3 separate regions of the Homo sapiens genome follow, and regions 2 and 3 are each linked to region 1. The links are contacts of gene promoters, found by promoter capture Hi-C in human tissues and cell types (Jung and others, 2019). All regions are on one chromosome and are shown on one strand. The core of a region is centred on a gene start or on the middle of the fragment in contact, and the rest is flanking DNA. Distances in the headings are between cores, read along the strand shown. Region 1 holds the start of GML (glycosylphosphatidylinositol anchored molecule like). Region 2 has its middle 14 kb from the start of CYP11B2. Region 3 has its middle 42 kb from the start of CYP11B2.

Evidence for each region. Contacts are between HindIII fragments. The study calls those that stand out against the background at their distance.
Region 2: a contact is called between a fragment that was not itself captured here and the fragment with the promoter of GML in region 1, in 3 of the 25 tissues and cell types used here (lymphoblastoid cells, mesendoderm cells and spleen).
Region 3: a contact is called between a fragment that was not itself captured here and the fragment with the promoter of GML in region 1, in 2 of the 25 tissues and cell types used here (H1 embryonic stem cells and mesendoderm cells).

Annotation. Positions count from the first base shown.
Region 1 is chr8:142,832,433-142,837,220 of GRCh38, forward strand. GML (glycosylphosphatidylinositol anchored molecule like) reads left to right here and starts at 2,369. Exons shown (of 4, transcript NM_002066.3): 1 at 2,369-2,436. The HindIII fragment of the contact is 25,891 bases long and covers 1-3,894 here.
Region 2 is chr8:142,929,034-142,933,671 of GRCh38, forward strand. No RefSeq gene overlaps it. Among named protein-coding and RNA genes, the nearest start is that of CYP11B2, 14 kb to the left of the region's middle. The HindIII fragment of the contact is 8,685 bases long and covers 1-4,638 here.
Region 3 is chr8:142,957,253-142,962,060 of GRCh38, forward strand. No RefSeq gene overlaps it. Among named protein-coding and RNA genes, the nearest start is that of CYP11B2, 42 kb to the left of the region's middle. The HindIII fragment of the contact is 8,627 bases long and covers 1-4,808 here.

The DNA.
Region 1 (4,788 bases), core at 1,119-3,618:
AGATTTTTACACCTCCAATACTAGGCAAAGCATAAGCCCATAGAATCATCAGTCAGGCTGGAGTTAGAACGTATATGACTATGTGATCGTAAACCCCAGACACAAAAACCACTTGCAAGTGGTCATGAGTCATCCTCACCCTGGGAAGCGAACAGAAACCATCACTGGAGGGGGACATACCCTCCACTCAGACCCCCAGCCTCTGGTTTACTAATGACAAATACAGATATGCCACAGATAACCAGAGGCACAGAAGTGATTAAGCCCCCAGGAGCAAAGGCAGAAGAAACAAAGTCTCCAAGTTAGACTCCCAAGGAATTCCCATATAGGAATGATTGGAGGCAAATGTAAACATACAGCCTTGAAAAGTCAGGAAAAAATCAGGTCACTTCCACTTCTACATGGGATGCAGTAGGTTGTGGCTGCTCAGAATGTGACAACCGGGCAAATCAATCCACAGAGTTAAAAGTCACATTTGAAAGGCCCTTGGACAGATGTGGAAGCACCAAGGCCTGCATGAACTGAAATTCCGCAGAGGGCGAGCCCTTCCCAGGGTACCCTTTGTCATTGCAGATACATTTGTCACTTTGGGCACCAGCTGAAAGCCAGGCTGGCTACAGACAGGGACTCCGGTAGGGAATGCAAACCAGAGTGCCGTCTTGGCTCACGGGGAACCAAAGTGGCCCAGAATCTCCAGGTACCTAAAGATCAAGACAGTTTTCCCATGGAAGAGCCTCCAAGTGCTGTGGTGGGAGGGACCCTGGGGAGTCAGAGAAGGCCAAGTAGAATCCCCCCCAGTGTGGCAGATCCCAGGAGACAGAGTGCCCCTAGAAGGAGCCTGCCACAGTCATACCACTGGTCTCCATCATAAGCCAGTGGCCCCGATGGAACAGGTGTGTGGGATGAGGTTCAAGGGGAAAGTCAAAGCCTAGAAAGGGAAACCCGTCCGAGCTGAGGATTCGGTGTGAAAGGTGAGCATACAAATTGGGTCACCCTTGTCACACCCAACTAAGGCAGAGTGCCAGGTAGGGAGACCATTCAGCACTCAGGATAGAAAACATTGCTCCAAGAATGTACTTCTCTGAGGCCTGACTGCTGAAACTGTCTGCGGTAACCTGAAACCAGTTTTATCTGATGGCTACTGAGACCACCTGCTGCAACTCTAAGCCTCGGTTCACCCACTGCCGTCACTGATTCACTCATCAACCAGAGCTTGCCAGCTCCCCAAAATCCTACTAGTGCCAATGAAACTCAGACAGCAATATGTACTATTTCTCTTCTTTATAAAAAAGAGACATAGTTCCTTTTTTTTTGAGACAGAGACTTGATTTGTCCTGCAGGTTGGAGCACAATGGCACGATCTCGGCTCACTACAACCTCCACCTCCTGGGATCAAGGGATTCTCCTGCCTCAGCCTCCTGAGTAGCTGGGACTACAGGCACACACCACCACACCCAGCTAATTTTTGTATTTTTAGTAGAGACGGGGTTTCACCATGTTGATCACTCTGGTCTTGAACTCCTGACCTCAAATGATCTGCCCGCCTCAGCCTCCCAAAATGCTGGGATTACAGGTGTAAGCCACCGCGAATTTAAAAAAGCCTTTTCTTTGTTCTTTGGACATACTGAAGGCCAGCCAGTCTGCCCCCGTGCCCCTAATTGCAGTTATTTCCTCCCAAATAAAACATTTCAATTTCAGAAATTCACCTATTTTATATGACTTCGACAAGAGCCAAGCCACACTGTGTAGGAGATGCTCGGGTGAAGCCAGCTGTCCCTGGCCACACACAGCTTGAAGGCAAAATGGCAGGAGCTCAAGCGAAAGCCAGGCAGGTCTCCCCCTGAAACCTCTGCACAGGTGGGCGCTGGCGGGGCTGAAGGGCAAGGGCACCGCTCAAGCTGGCTTTGGTCAGGGTTAGGGACAGGGCCGGCTCCAGAGGCGACGGGGTCGCACCCTGAGCGGAGGGGCTCCCGGGGTCCCCAGGGGTTATGGTGATGGCGGGACCCCCTAGAGGGAGGGTCCAGGAACGAGGCAGGTGGACTGGGACCTTGAGGGCAGGGTGGGCCTGGGCGGTGCCAACAGGCTGCCGAGGGTGGCTGCTGTCCCGTTTCTCCAGCAGCCAGGGCCGTGCGCTTCTAGAACATTCCCCGTGGCTTTCCTAAAGGGAGCGTGGATGGAGCCAGGGTGTGCAGATTTCTGTGAGAAATATTTTCACCTGGGAGCCCCAAGGGGGACCCTGCCCACCTTTGAACACTGGCAGATGGGCTGGAGGCCTGGAGCCTGGGGACGGGGCTTTGAGGGTCCGGAAGGAGGGCGGGGCTGTGCGGCCGGCGGAGGCCCCCGAAAGTTCCAGAAAGCGGGTGGGGAGGTCGGCGCGGGAGGCTCAGATGGCTGGAGGCGGCGGGCACGCACACTGCGGGGCTCCGAGGGGCACAGGTCAGTTTCCTGAGGCGGGTCGGGACCCAGGCGTGAGACTGGAGTCTGCCCAGGGGCCCAGCTGAGGCAGCCTCCTCGTCAGCTGCTTGGGCCGCCAGGACGCCGCCGGGGGTGCGCCGCGCTTCCCTGGATGGGGTGCCCCCACTCCCCTCGGAGCCCCAGGGAGACCCCCCGAACTCAGCTCCTCTCAGGGGTGCCAGGGGGACCCCTCAAAACTCCACTCCCCGCAGGTTCCTGGGGAGACGCCCCCTGCTCCATTCCCCTCAGGGTCCCAGGGAGACCCCCTAATTCAGCTCCTCTCAGGGGTACTGGGGGACCTCTCGAGCTCCACTCCCATCAGGGTCCCAGGGAGACCCCCCAACTATGCTCAGGGGTCCCAGGGAGATGCCAGCACCCCAACTCCGCTTCCCTGGGGCCCCCCTCCCCTTACAGCTCAACTTCCCTCGAGAGTCTGGGGCTGGGGCTCCGTTCAGTTCTTGAGTCCCCTTCCCTCGGGGTGTCCCGGGGCCGCCCACCCCCACACTGTCTGTGATTCCCCAAGGCGCGGGTCTCGGGCCGCAGCCTGTTCCACGTTCTGCTGCTCGTTCTTTTCTGGCTCCTTGCTTTCGAAGGAGAGAAGGAGGCCTTCGTTTCCAGTCTTTTTGCCTTTTCTAATGGAGCCCTGCTTTTCCTTCCGTGTCCCTTCAGGCTACTTCTGCCAGGTTTCTATTTTTCATTCTTTATTATGACTTTGCCCAAAATATTCTTGACTTCTATTGAGAAGGATTTGGGGGTCTATTTCTTATTTGGAGGTGTGTTCTTAAGTTCCAAACAGATGAGGATTTTCCAGTTAATCCTTCTGGGGTGACTTATTGCTTAATGCCACCATAGTCAGAAAATGGACTCTCAGTGTCCGAAACTGCATTCGGCTCTGAAGTGTCTGTCCTTGTCACCTCTTGCAATGTTTTTTGCCTGGAAGCCTGCACTCGCCGACGCTGACGTAACTGTTTCTGCCTTTCAGTTCTACAGCCTCCTTTGCTTTGTGATATTGTCATATACTTTATTTCTATATATGTTATGAACTCAATATTTCTTGTAGTGGGTCTGCTGATAATAAGATATTCCTACTCTTTTTGTCTGAAGCCATCTTAAGCTTACCCTGTATTTGCCCCATGCATCTCTTCCGTTTCACGGTTCCTGAGTTGTCACCTTTGTGATAAACTGGTAATAGTAAGTAAACTGTTTTCTTGTGCTCTGTAAGCTGTTCTAGCAAATTATCTAGGAGGAGGTGGTCTTGGAAACCCTTGATTTATAACTGGGCAGTCAGAAGTACACGTGGCCCAGACTTGTGATTGGCATCTGAAGTGGGGGCATTAGGGTGGGACTGAGCCCTTCACCTGTGGGGTCTGCCCTGCTCAAGGCAGTGTCAGAATTGAATTGAAATGTTGGACGGTCAGTGTCCAGAGAGTTGGAGAACTGGTTTGTGTGTAAAAACTCACATATTTAGGGTCAGAAGTATGGTGGTGTAGAAATAATTCATACTATAGTCCCTTATTTCTGCCTCTTACACATCCTGTTATTTTTAAAATTTTTTCATCTTTAAAAAATCAATTTAGTAATCTTTTTCTCTTTAATGCTCTCATTAGAATTTTTAAAGTACTTGTATGCTAATGTCAACATTTGAGTGAACTGTGGGTTTATTTCTATTGTTGTTTTATTGATTAGCAATAATTTATTCCTAATTCTTACATATCCTGTGATGTTTTTATTGAACATCTTGCGTTGCGTACAAAATAGCTGGAAAGCTTGGAGGTGGTTGTATGTTACTACTGGGGATGTGTGCCCTCTCCTCTCTCCAGGAGCCTGTGGGAAGGCCTGGACTACTGGCTTGCTCAAAGGTGGAGGCCAAGTGGGATGCTTGCAGCTTCAACCTGACCCTGGCTGCCTCTGGAGCCGGCCCTGTCTCTAACCCTAACTGAAGCCATCTTGAGCGGTGCCCTTCCCCTTCTCCTACAGAGTGTGGCTTGTCTCGTGTTGAAGTCAAATAAAATAGATGACTTTCTGAAATTGAAATCTTTTCTTTCGGAGGAAATAATTGTAATTAGGGGCATGGGGGTAGACGGGCTGGCATTCAGTATGTCCAAAGAACAAAGAGAAGGATTTTTAAAATTTGCAGTGGCTCACACCTGTAATCCCAGCACTTTGGGAGGCTGAGGCAGGCAGATCACTTGAGGTCAGGAGTTCAAGACCAGCGTGGCCAACATAGTGAAACCCCGTCTCTACTAAAAATACAAAAATTAGCTGGGCGTAGTGGCGTGCGCCCATAGTCCCAGCTACTCAGGAGGCTGAGGCAGGAGAACTGCTTGAACCCTG
Region 2 (4,638 bases), core at 1,287-3,786, 97 kb after region 1:
CAACTCGTTTCTTTCTTTCTTTTTTTTTTTTAGAGACAGAGTCTTGCTCTGTTGCCCAGGCTGGAGAGCAGTGGCACTATCTCAGCTCACTGCAGCCTCCGCCTCCCAAGTTCAAGCCATTCTCCTGCCTCAGCCTCCCAAATAGCTGGGACTACAGACATGTGCCACCATGCCCGGCTAATTTCTTTTCTTTTCTTTTCTTTTTTTTCTTTGTATTTTTAGTAGAGACGGGGTTTCACCATGTTACCCAGGATGGTCTCCATCTCCTGACTTTGTAATCCATCCACCTCAGCCTCCCAAAGTGCTGGGATTACAGGAGTGAACCACAGTGCCCAGCCATTCAATTCCAATTTCTAACTTTGCTTGTATCCTAACCCTCACCTCCTTTCCTCCTTAGAACTCAAGCCATCTTTTCACCAAGGTGATGAAAGCGGTTGCCGCATGCACCCCCACTCCCAGGTGATGGCTGTGTTGGCTTCTGTACTGACTGGTTGCCTATCATAATCCCAGAAGACACAACTCCAAATGCCATAATCCCAAATGTTGAAATCCCAAAAGATCAAAATCTCAAAAATACAATTCTGGAAAAATATTGTAATTATTTTAAAGATATTTATTCACATTTTTAAGGGGGACTTGTTTGAGAAACGCATAAAAACATGGCAGAACACTTCCTCAGCCACTTTACGCAATAAAACAGGCAATAAGAACTTCCATATTTTTGCAATCATAAATACTCAGGCCATCACCTGGGAGTGGGAGTGCGTGTGGCAACTTGTAGGAGCCTGGTCACAGCTCGTTCCCAGTCTATCATCATGGTTTGGGGATTCCATCGAAATCTATTCTCTTCTGCACAGTCCACCAAATCTTCAAACAAGCATTCATAAAGTGCTTCACTTTTTCCTGTCATTGAAACACAAATGAGGAGATAAAGTTCTAGAATTTTCAGATCCAACAGGGACTTGAATTGCATATAGTTGAAAGAAAACAGTGGGAACAGTTTTGAAAGTGCCGTCTTTAGTCGAAGTGAAGCATGCGCCAGTCTTTCTATGTCAGATTTAGTGGTAAATATAAGAAGTCTATCCTCTTCAACAGTCAAATCCCTAATCAATAATCTCTCACCATGCAGTGTGTTTGTGTCACTGGAGGAACCCCAGTGGCAAAGAGCAAACCTCCTTGGTTCCGAAGCTCGCTGAGCTTGTCGAATTCGCTTTATTCTCTGATGAAGCGCGTTTTTGTTTTGTTTTGTTTTTGAGACAGAGTCTCACTCTGTCGCCCAGGCTGGAGTGCAGTGGCACTATCTTGGCTCACCGCAACCTCCACCTCCCAGGTTCAAGCAATTCTCCTGCCTCAGGCTCCTGAGTAGCTGGGACTACAGGCACCTGCCACCATGCCCAGCTAATTACTTGTATTTTTAGTAGAGACGGGGTTTCACCGTGTTAACCAGGATGGTCTCCATCTCCTGACCTCGTGATCCACCGGCCTCGGCCTCCCAAAGTGCTGGGATTACAGGCGTGACCCACCGCGCCCAGCCCAAGGGCATTTTTTGAAGGCAAGCCTGGTGCTGTGTGTGAAGGGGCAGAAGTCAGGCCTGAATGGATAATGTGACTTGGGAGATTTCTTGTATTTTTCACCTGAGTTTTCACTTCTATTGTCTTCAAAACACTTGCTGCACTTGTATCTGGAGAGTGGTGGTGGTCTACGAATTTTGCAGATATATGCTGTCTATTTGAAGGTCTTATTATTGTTTGTTGCAATTAAGCAATTTTCTGCTTAATTGCAGTGCCAATAATAATTAGCTTTTAAACTATTATCTTTCACCATTAAGTAGCTTAATACACTTATTGCAGCCTTTTTGCAAAGGAATGATTCCACAGATCTCTTCCATTGTGTTGTAAGAAATACAGTAAGAAGGAACAGTATTCAACTTCCACAATACAAAGTCTGTATTAGTCAGGGTTCTCCAGAGAGACAGAACCAATAAGTTCTGGGTATGGATATATGAGAGGGGTTTATTAGGGGAACTGGTTCACATGATTACAGAGGCTGAGAAGTCGCATGGCAGGCTGTCTGCAAGCTGGAGACTGTGGGAAGCCAGTAGTGTGGCTCAAACCGAAAGCCTCAAGACCCATTGCGGGATGGGAGGGGACAGGTGTAACTCTCACTACAAAGTTGAAAACCTGAGAAGCCGGGGGCCACTGGTGTAAAAGTCCTGGACTCCAAAGGCTGGAGAGCCTGGGGTTCTGTGTTCAAGGCAGCAGAAGAGGTCTGTCCCAGCCCTCAGGGAGACAATTCACCTTCTGTATCTGTTCTCTCCAGGGCATCCGTGGATTAGCCGGTGCCCACCAACATTACAGCAGATCCTCCCCATACAAACCACTCAGACCCACATGCTGATCTCCTCTGGAAATGCCTCTCACACACACCCCGAATAATGTGTCACCAGGTTTCCAGGTATTTCTGAATCCAGTTGAGTTGACACTTAAAGTTAGGTCCACAAGTTCACCCCTTGTCAACTTGGCACCCATACCCGTCTCCTCCTGAAATCACAGTTAATTTCCAAAAAAAAGGGACAAGAACAAGGAAACAGTGCTGTCTAACATGGTGCAACTGTCCTGTGATTGGGATTCTTGGGATTTTAGATGTTAGAGATTTTAGACTTTAGGAGTTTAGATTATGGCATTCCGTCCTGTGTCTTTTGGGATTATGATCCAAACCCATGTAGACTGATCCCTTGTCCAGGTCCCTCCCTATTTGGGGCTCCTGAAGATGTGTTCTTTTGAGAGCCTGGAAATGCATCTTTGTATGTTTTTCAGTATTTATTGTTGCTGGAAGTGAAAGGATTTTCAGAGTTTCTGCTCCATAATTTTGCTAGAACCTGAAGACATTTCCTGGAGCTTTTTAAGTAGCGCACGGTGTCGGGCAGCTCTCCGCAGCCATAGGAGGGAAAGACAAGGCTGACTCCGTAGGTGTGTGGCCGCCTCATAATCATGGAAGTCAGGCCTCACTTTGCAAAAGAACGGTTCCAGCTTTCTTGCAGAAATCTGTATCTGTTTGCAAGAGGGGCCCTGGAATTGCTGGTTGTTGTTCTTCTGACCTCATGGACTGTTGGGCAATAGTGGCATTGTCTAAAAAATTCTAAATGGCTGAGTACACCCTTTCATTGATTCACCCAGCACGTCTTTATTGGGAACTTTCTACCAGTCAGGCGCTGTGCGATATGCTAATGAAAAAGAAAGTGTCTGCCCTCAGAGTGACTCCATTCTATAAGTCTAAACTATAGACATATGTGCTAACACATTTATTTCCCTAATTTTGATCATGTCAGAGTAGACACAGCATAATTGTCTTGTAATAAAAGAAGCACTAAGTTAAGGTGCACCCATTGAGTGGGACAGTGGACATCGGTAATAAACGTGGGTCTATCTGAATTAACCGAAAATGTTGCTTACCATGCATTAAGCAAAAGGACAAGTCAGAATCATATCTATAGAGACACACTTGCATGTTCTTGCAAATACCCCACACACACATACACAACAATGTCTACAAACCCGTGTTCTAGTAGGTGTTGAGCAGAACGTCAATAATAAAGATAAAAGCCTCTAGAAAGCAGGCTGGGCGTGATGGTTCACTCCTGGAATCCCAGCACTTTGGGAAGCTGAGGCAGGTGGATCACCTGAGGTCAGGAGCTCGAGACCAGCCTGGCCAACATGGTGAAACCTGTCGCTCCTAAAAATACAAAAATTAGCCGGGTGTGGTGGCAGGTGCCTGTAATCCCAGCCCTTGGGAGGCTGAGGCGGGAGGATCCCTTGAACCTGGGAGGTGGAGGTTGCAGTGAGCTGAGACTGTGCTACAAGAGCATGCTACAAGAGTGAAACTGTCTCAAACAAACAAACAAGAAAAGCCTCTGGAAAGCAAAGACAACCTATAAATTTGCCTTGACAGTACCATTCAGTGACAGAAGACAATGGAGTAATAATATATATGTAAAATGCAAACGGAACATTACTGTAAACACAGGATCTTAAATTCAGTTAAACGCTCATCCAAGAGAACAGGCTAAAGGAACTATTAATGAAAAAAATCAGTTTACTCATCACAGACCCTGCCCAAAAGAACTATTCAGAATTTGCTTCAAAGAAAGTGATCCAGAGATAAGATGAGGGATATAAAAAAGTGAGTGTGAGTTCAGAAGTTGACACAATTATGCTGATACATTTAATTAACAATTGACTATGGAGAGGCCAATAGCTCAAGAACTTCAAAATAGCCTATGGGCAATAACCCGTGGGTACTTAGCTTTGAAATACTTAGAACGTTCCAGATAGAATTCCCCTTTGATGTCTTTTCTTCGTCAGCATTCAGAACCAGACATTATACTGAGAAGCCCTTTTTATTTTTTATTTTTATTCTTTATCTTTTTGAGACAGAGCCTCACTCTGTCACCCAGACTGGAGTGCAGTGGTGTGGTCTACACTCGCTGCAACCTCTGCCTCCCGGGTTCAAGCGATTCTCCTGCCTCAGCTTCCTGAGTAGCTGGGATTACAGGCACCTGCCACCATGTCTGGCTAATTTTTGTAGAGATGGGGTTTCACCATGTTGGCCAGGCTGGTCTTGAACCCCTGACCTCAAGTG
Region 3 (4,808 bases), core at 124-2,623, 120 kb after region 1:
CTCAAAATAGCTCCTAGATTTAAATGGGAAATGCTGAACTATTGAAATATTTGCAAACCACGTATCTGGCAAAGAGCTAATACCTAGAATGCAGCTCTGTCTTAATCTGTTTTCTGTTGTTTATAACAGAATACCTGAAACTGGGTAATTTATAAAGAAAAAGAATTCCTGTCCAGGTGCAGTGGCTCATGCCTGTAATCCCAGCAATTTGGGAGGCCGAGGCGGGTGGATCACCTGAGGTCAGGAGTTCGAGACCAGCCTGGCCAACATGGAGAAACCCCGTCTCTACTAAAAATACACAAATTAGCCGGGTGTGGTGGTGCACACCTGTAGTCCCAGCTACTCGGGAGGCTGAGGCAGGAGAATCACTTGAACCCGGGAGGCGGAGGTTGCAGTGAGCCGAGATCGTGCCATTGCACTCCAGCCTGCGCAACAAGAGCGAAACTCCATCTCAAAAAAAAAAAAAAGAATTCCTTTCTTAAGTTATGGAGGCTTCGATGTCTAAGGGTAAGGGGCCACATCTGGTGAGGGCCTTCTGGCTGGTGGGGACTCTCTATAGGGTCCCGAAGGAGTGCAGGGCATCCCAGGGAGGGCGAGGGCGCTGAGTGTGCTTCTGTGCTAGTTCAGTTTTCTCTTCCTCTTCTTATAAAGCCACCAGTCCCATTCCATGATAACTCACTAATTCATTAACCCATTAATCTAGTAATCCATTAACCCATGAATGGGTTAATCCATTCAAGAGAGCCTAGCCCTTGTGATCCAATCACCTCTTAAAGGCCCCCTGCTCTGTACTGCCTCAATGGAGATTACATGAGTTTTGGAGGGGACAAACATTGAAACCATAGCGAGCTCTATATTCTAGATACTAGCTCTTATATATACTCTCTAAACCCAAGAGAAAAAAAATCTCAATTCAATTAGAAAATTGTCAGAAAAAGAAACATGAAAAACTCTTCACTGAAGAGGAAATACAGAGAACAAGCCAATGAAGAGATGTCAACAGAATTAGCCATTAGGGAAAAAGGCAAATCAAAACTGCAATAAGATCCTACTACACACCTATCAGAATGGCTAAAATAAAATAGCGACCTCACCAAATGCTGGTGAAGAAGTGGAGAGGCTGGATGGCTCATTCGTCGCTGGTGGGAATGTGAAACGGTACAACTACTCTGGAAAACAGCTTGGCATTTTCTTTAAAAACAAAGTACATGAGCCAGGCGTGGTGGTTCACGCCTGTAATCCCAGCTCCTATTTAAGATAGAGTTGCTCTGGTTCATGCACCTCTGACATAGGAAGTTGCAAAGACTGTCCAGAGAGATCCCAGTTCCCCCAGTGGTTACATCTTCCATTCTATAGTAAAATGTGATAATCAGGAAATTGACATGATACAATGTGCTCGGAGTTCCAGGAACTCCACGCCTGTGTCATTCCTGCAGCCATCACCCCATTCAATATGCAGAGCCCTTCCATCACTGCAGACACCCTCCCTTGTGCTACACCTTTGTGGACATGGCTGCCCTCCTCGCACACCACTAACTCTTGGCAACTTCTCAACTGTCCTCCATCACTACAGTTTTGTCATGTTGGGAAGGTTACTTACATGGAGCCATAGTTTGTGGCATTTGAGATGGAGATTTTATGTCCTTGGGAGCTTGACCTTTTAACCATATGGCAGTACTTCCTTTTGGTCTCTGCCTTCGGGGAAGAGGAATTTTAGGATTCATGTCATAATTAGCTCTAAAAATCATATTAAACAGTTAAAAGCCTTTGCAAGATCAAAGTTAACTACTCAAGACTCCTTCTGGGAAAAGAACTGGATACTGCCTTGTGCTGTAGCTCAGTAGCCAAGGCTTTGCACTTTCACAGTGGCGGTTGGGGTTCAATTCCCCCATAAGAAATAAGTCATTTCTGGTTTAATATCTTGTCTATTCTCTTCTCCTCTGCAGAACGTCTTAAATTTTCCTTTCTCTAAGCACCTGGGTGGTTACCTTTGGTAAGTTCAAAAGCCAGAAATATCGGCCTTTTGGCATAAGAAATTCTAAAAGTGAGAGGTGACAGTGTGCTGGCAGTCTTCACAGCCCTCGCTGGCTCTCGGCGCCTCTTCCGCCTGGGCTCCCACTTTGGCGGCACTTGAGGAGCCCTTCAGCCCACCGCTGCACTGTGGGAGCCCCTTTCTGGGCTGGCCAAGGCCGAAGCTGACTCCCTCAGCTTGCAGGGAGGTGTGGAGGTGGAGGCGCGAGGGGAAACCGGGGCTGTGCAGCGCTTGCGGGCCAGCTGGAGTTCCGGGTGGGCGTGGGCTTGGCGGCCCCGCACTCGGAGCAGACGGCCGGCCCTGCCGGCCCTGGGCAGTGAGGGACTTGGCACCCGGGCCAGCGGCTGCGGAGGGTGTACTGGGTCCCCCAGCAGTGCTGGCCCCCCAGCGCTGCGCTCGATTTCTCCCCGGGCCTTAGCTGCCTTCCCGCAGGGCAAGCCTCGGGACCTGCAGCCCGCCATGCCTGAGCCTTCCCCCGCCTCTGTGGGCTCCTGTGCAGCCCAAGCCTCCCCGACGACTGCCGTCCCCTGCTCCACGGCGCCCAGTCCCATCGACCACCCAAAGGCTGAGGAGTGCAAGCGCACAGTGCGGGACTGGCAGGCAGCTGCACCTGCAGCCCCGGTGCGGGATCCACTGGGTGAAGCCAGCTGGGCTCCTGAGTCTGGTGGGGCCTTGGAGAACCTTTATGTCTAGCTCAGGGATTGTAAATACACCAATCGGCACTCTGTGTCTAGCTCAAGGTTTGTAACACACCAATCAGCACCCTGTGTTTAGCTCAAGGTTTGTGAATGCACCAATTGACACTCTGTATCTAGCTGCTCTGGTGGGGCCTTGGAGAGCCTTTATGTCTAGCTCAGGGATTGTAAATACACCAATCGGCACTCTGTATCTGGCTCAAGGTTTGTAAACACACCAATCAGCACCCTGTGTTTAGCTCAAGGTTTGTGAGTGCACCAATCAACACTCTGTATCTAGCTGCTCTGGTGGGGCCTTGGAGAACCTGTGTGTCCAAACTCTGTATCTAACTGATCTGATGGGGACGTGGAGAACCTTTGTATCTAGCTCAGGGATTGTAAACGAACCAATCAGCGCCCTGTCAAAACAGGCCACTCGGCTCTACCAATCAGCAGGACGTGGGTGGGGCCAGATAAGAGAATAAAAGCAGGCTGCCCGAGCCAGCAGTGGCAACCCGCTGGGGTCCCCTTCCACACTGTGGAAGCTTTGTTCTTTTGTTCTTTGCAATAAATCTTGCTATTGCTCACTCTTTGGGTCCACACTGCTTTTATGAGCTGTCACACTCACAGGGAAGGTCTGCAGCTTCACTCCTGAAGCCAGCGAGACCACGAGCCCACCAGGAGGAACGAACAACTCCAGACGCGCCGCCTTAAGAGCTGTAACACTCACCGTGAAGGTCTGCAGCTTCACTCCTGAGCCAGCGAGACCACCAAACCCACCAGAATGAAGAAACTCCGAACACATCCGAACATCAGAAGGGACAGACTCCAGATGCGCCACCTTAAGAGCTGTAACACTCACTGCGAGGGTCCGCGGCTTCATTCTTGAAGTCAGACCAAGAACCCACCAATTCCGGACACGGAAGGACTTTAATATTAAAGAGTGCTATGGTTAAAATCAGTTCAATTAAAAGTGGATATTCAAGCTCTAACAGCCTGGACTCCCTGGGAAAAACAGGAGGCACCAGAGAACCCTTTGCTGGCCCTGTTCTTCCAAGCGCTCCACCCTAAAGCTGGTAATCCAATTAAAAAACTTAAAAACTGGCAAATGAAAAATCTTACAACCCCTGTGGTGATCTGCTTCTGTCTTTCTGTGTAGCTACATATGTGTTGTGTGTAACGTTTATATTTTTAAAAACTAATTAATTGGCTTAAACAAAAATAAGCACTTACATCAAATATTTTGAAACCAAAATGAAAACCGTAATGTCTTTTAGTTCATGTAACTTTAGAAATCTTTGGGAAATAAAAACAGCTTTAATAATTGTTGATAAAACCATTTAGTCTAAAGTATGCAGGTCAGATATTAAGTTGGCTAAATGCTTTGAGGTTGTAAACTGCTTCTTTAACTTTTAAAATTTGTTCAATTTATGTACCTTAAAGCCATTAGATTCTAGATAAGGCCTGGGGGGACATGTAGAATTAGCCATGCCCCCTAGCTGTACAAAGATTATAAAGAAAGGTTATATGAGAAAGCATCTTGTATGGTAAATTCTTGTCCTAAAGTAAAATAACTGGTTGTTTAAAAGGAGGGATGTTTACGGCAAGTCAGAAAGTCGAAAAATGCCTCATGTGGTCTGTGTAAGTCGTGAAAGGATTTGTGAAAGGGAATTTGTGCGAGAAATGTTCTACAATTCAAAGGTGGTTGGGCTTCTTAAATGCTTCGTAAAATGCCACCATGACGCTTACCATACAATTTGCCTGCTTCAGTAAGATAGGGCCTGGGGACATGTGGAGTTAGTCACGTCCCTAGCTATGCTGGAGAGTCAGCCCTTATCTGTACTTCTGCCTGGTATGTCCTAGGCTAGGCTTCACATCTAGTAGACAATTAAAATTGCTCACTAACCAGCGTTTTCACCAAAAGTAAGCGTCGCTAAAAGTTAACATTGTAACACGTAATTGAGACTATTGAAAAAAACAGCTTTACATGTAAGGTGTGTAAGGAAAGTAGAATGTACTTTTGGTACAAGGTTATAAGAAGGCATGGGAATGTGAATTTTTTTGCTTAAAGGGATAAAGAATTGTTGTAAGTTAGTAGAATA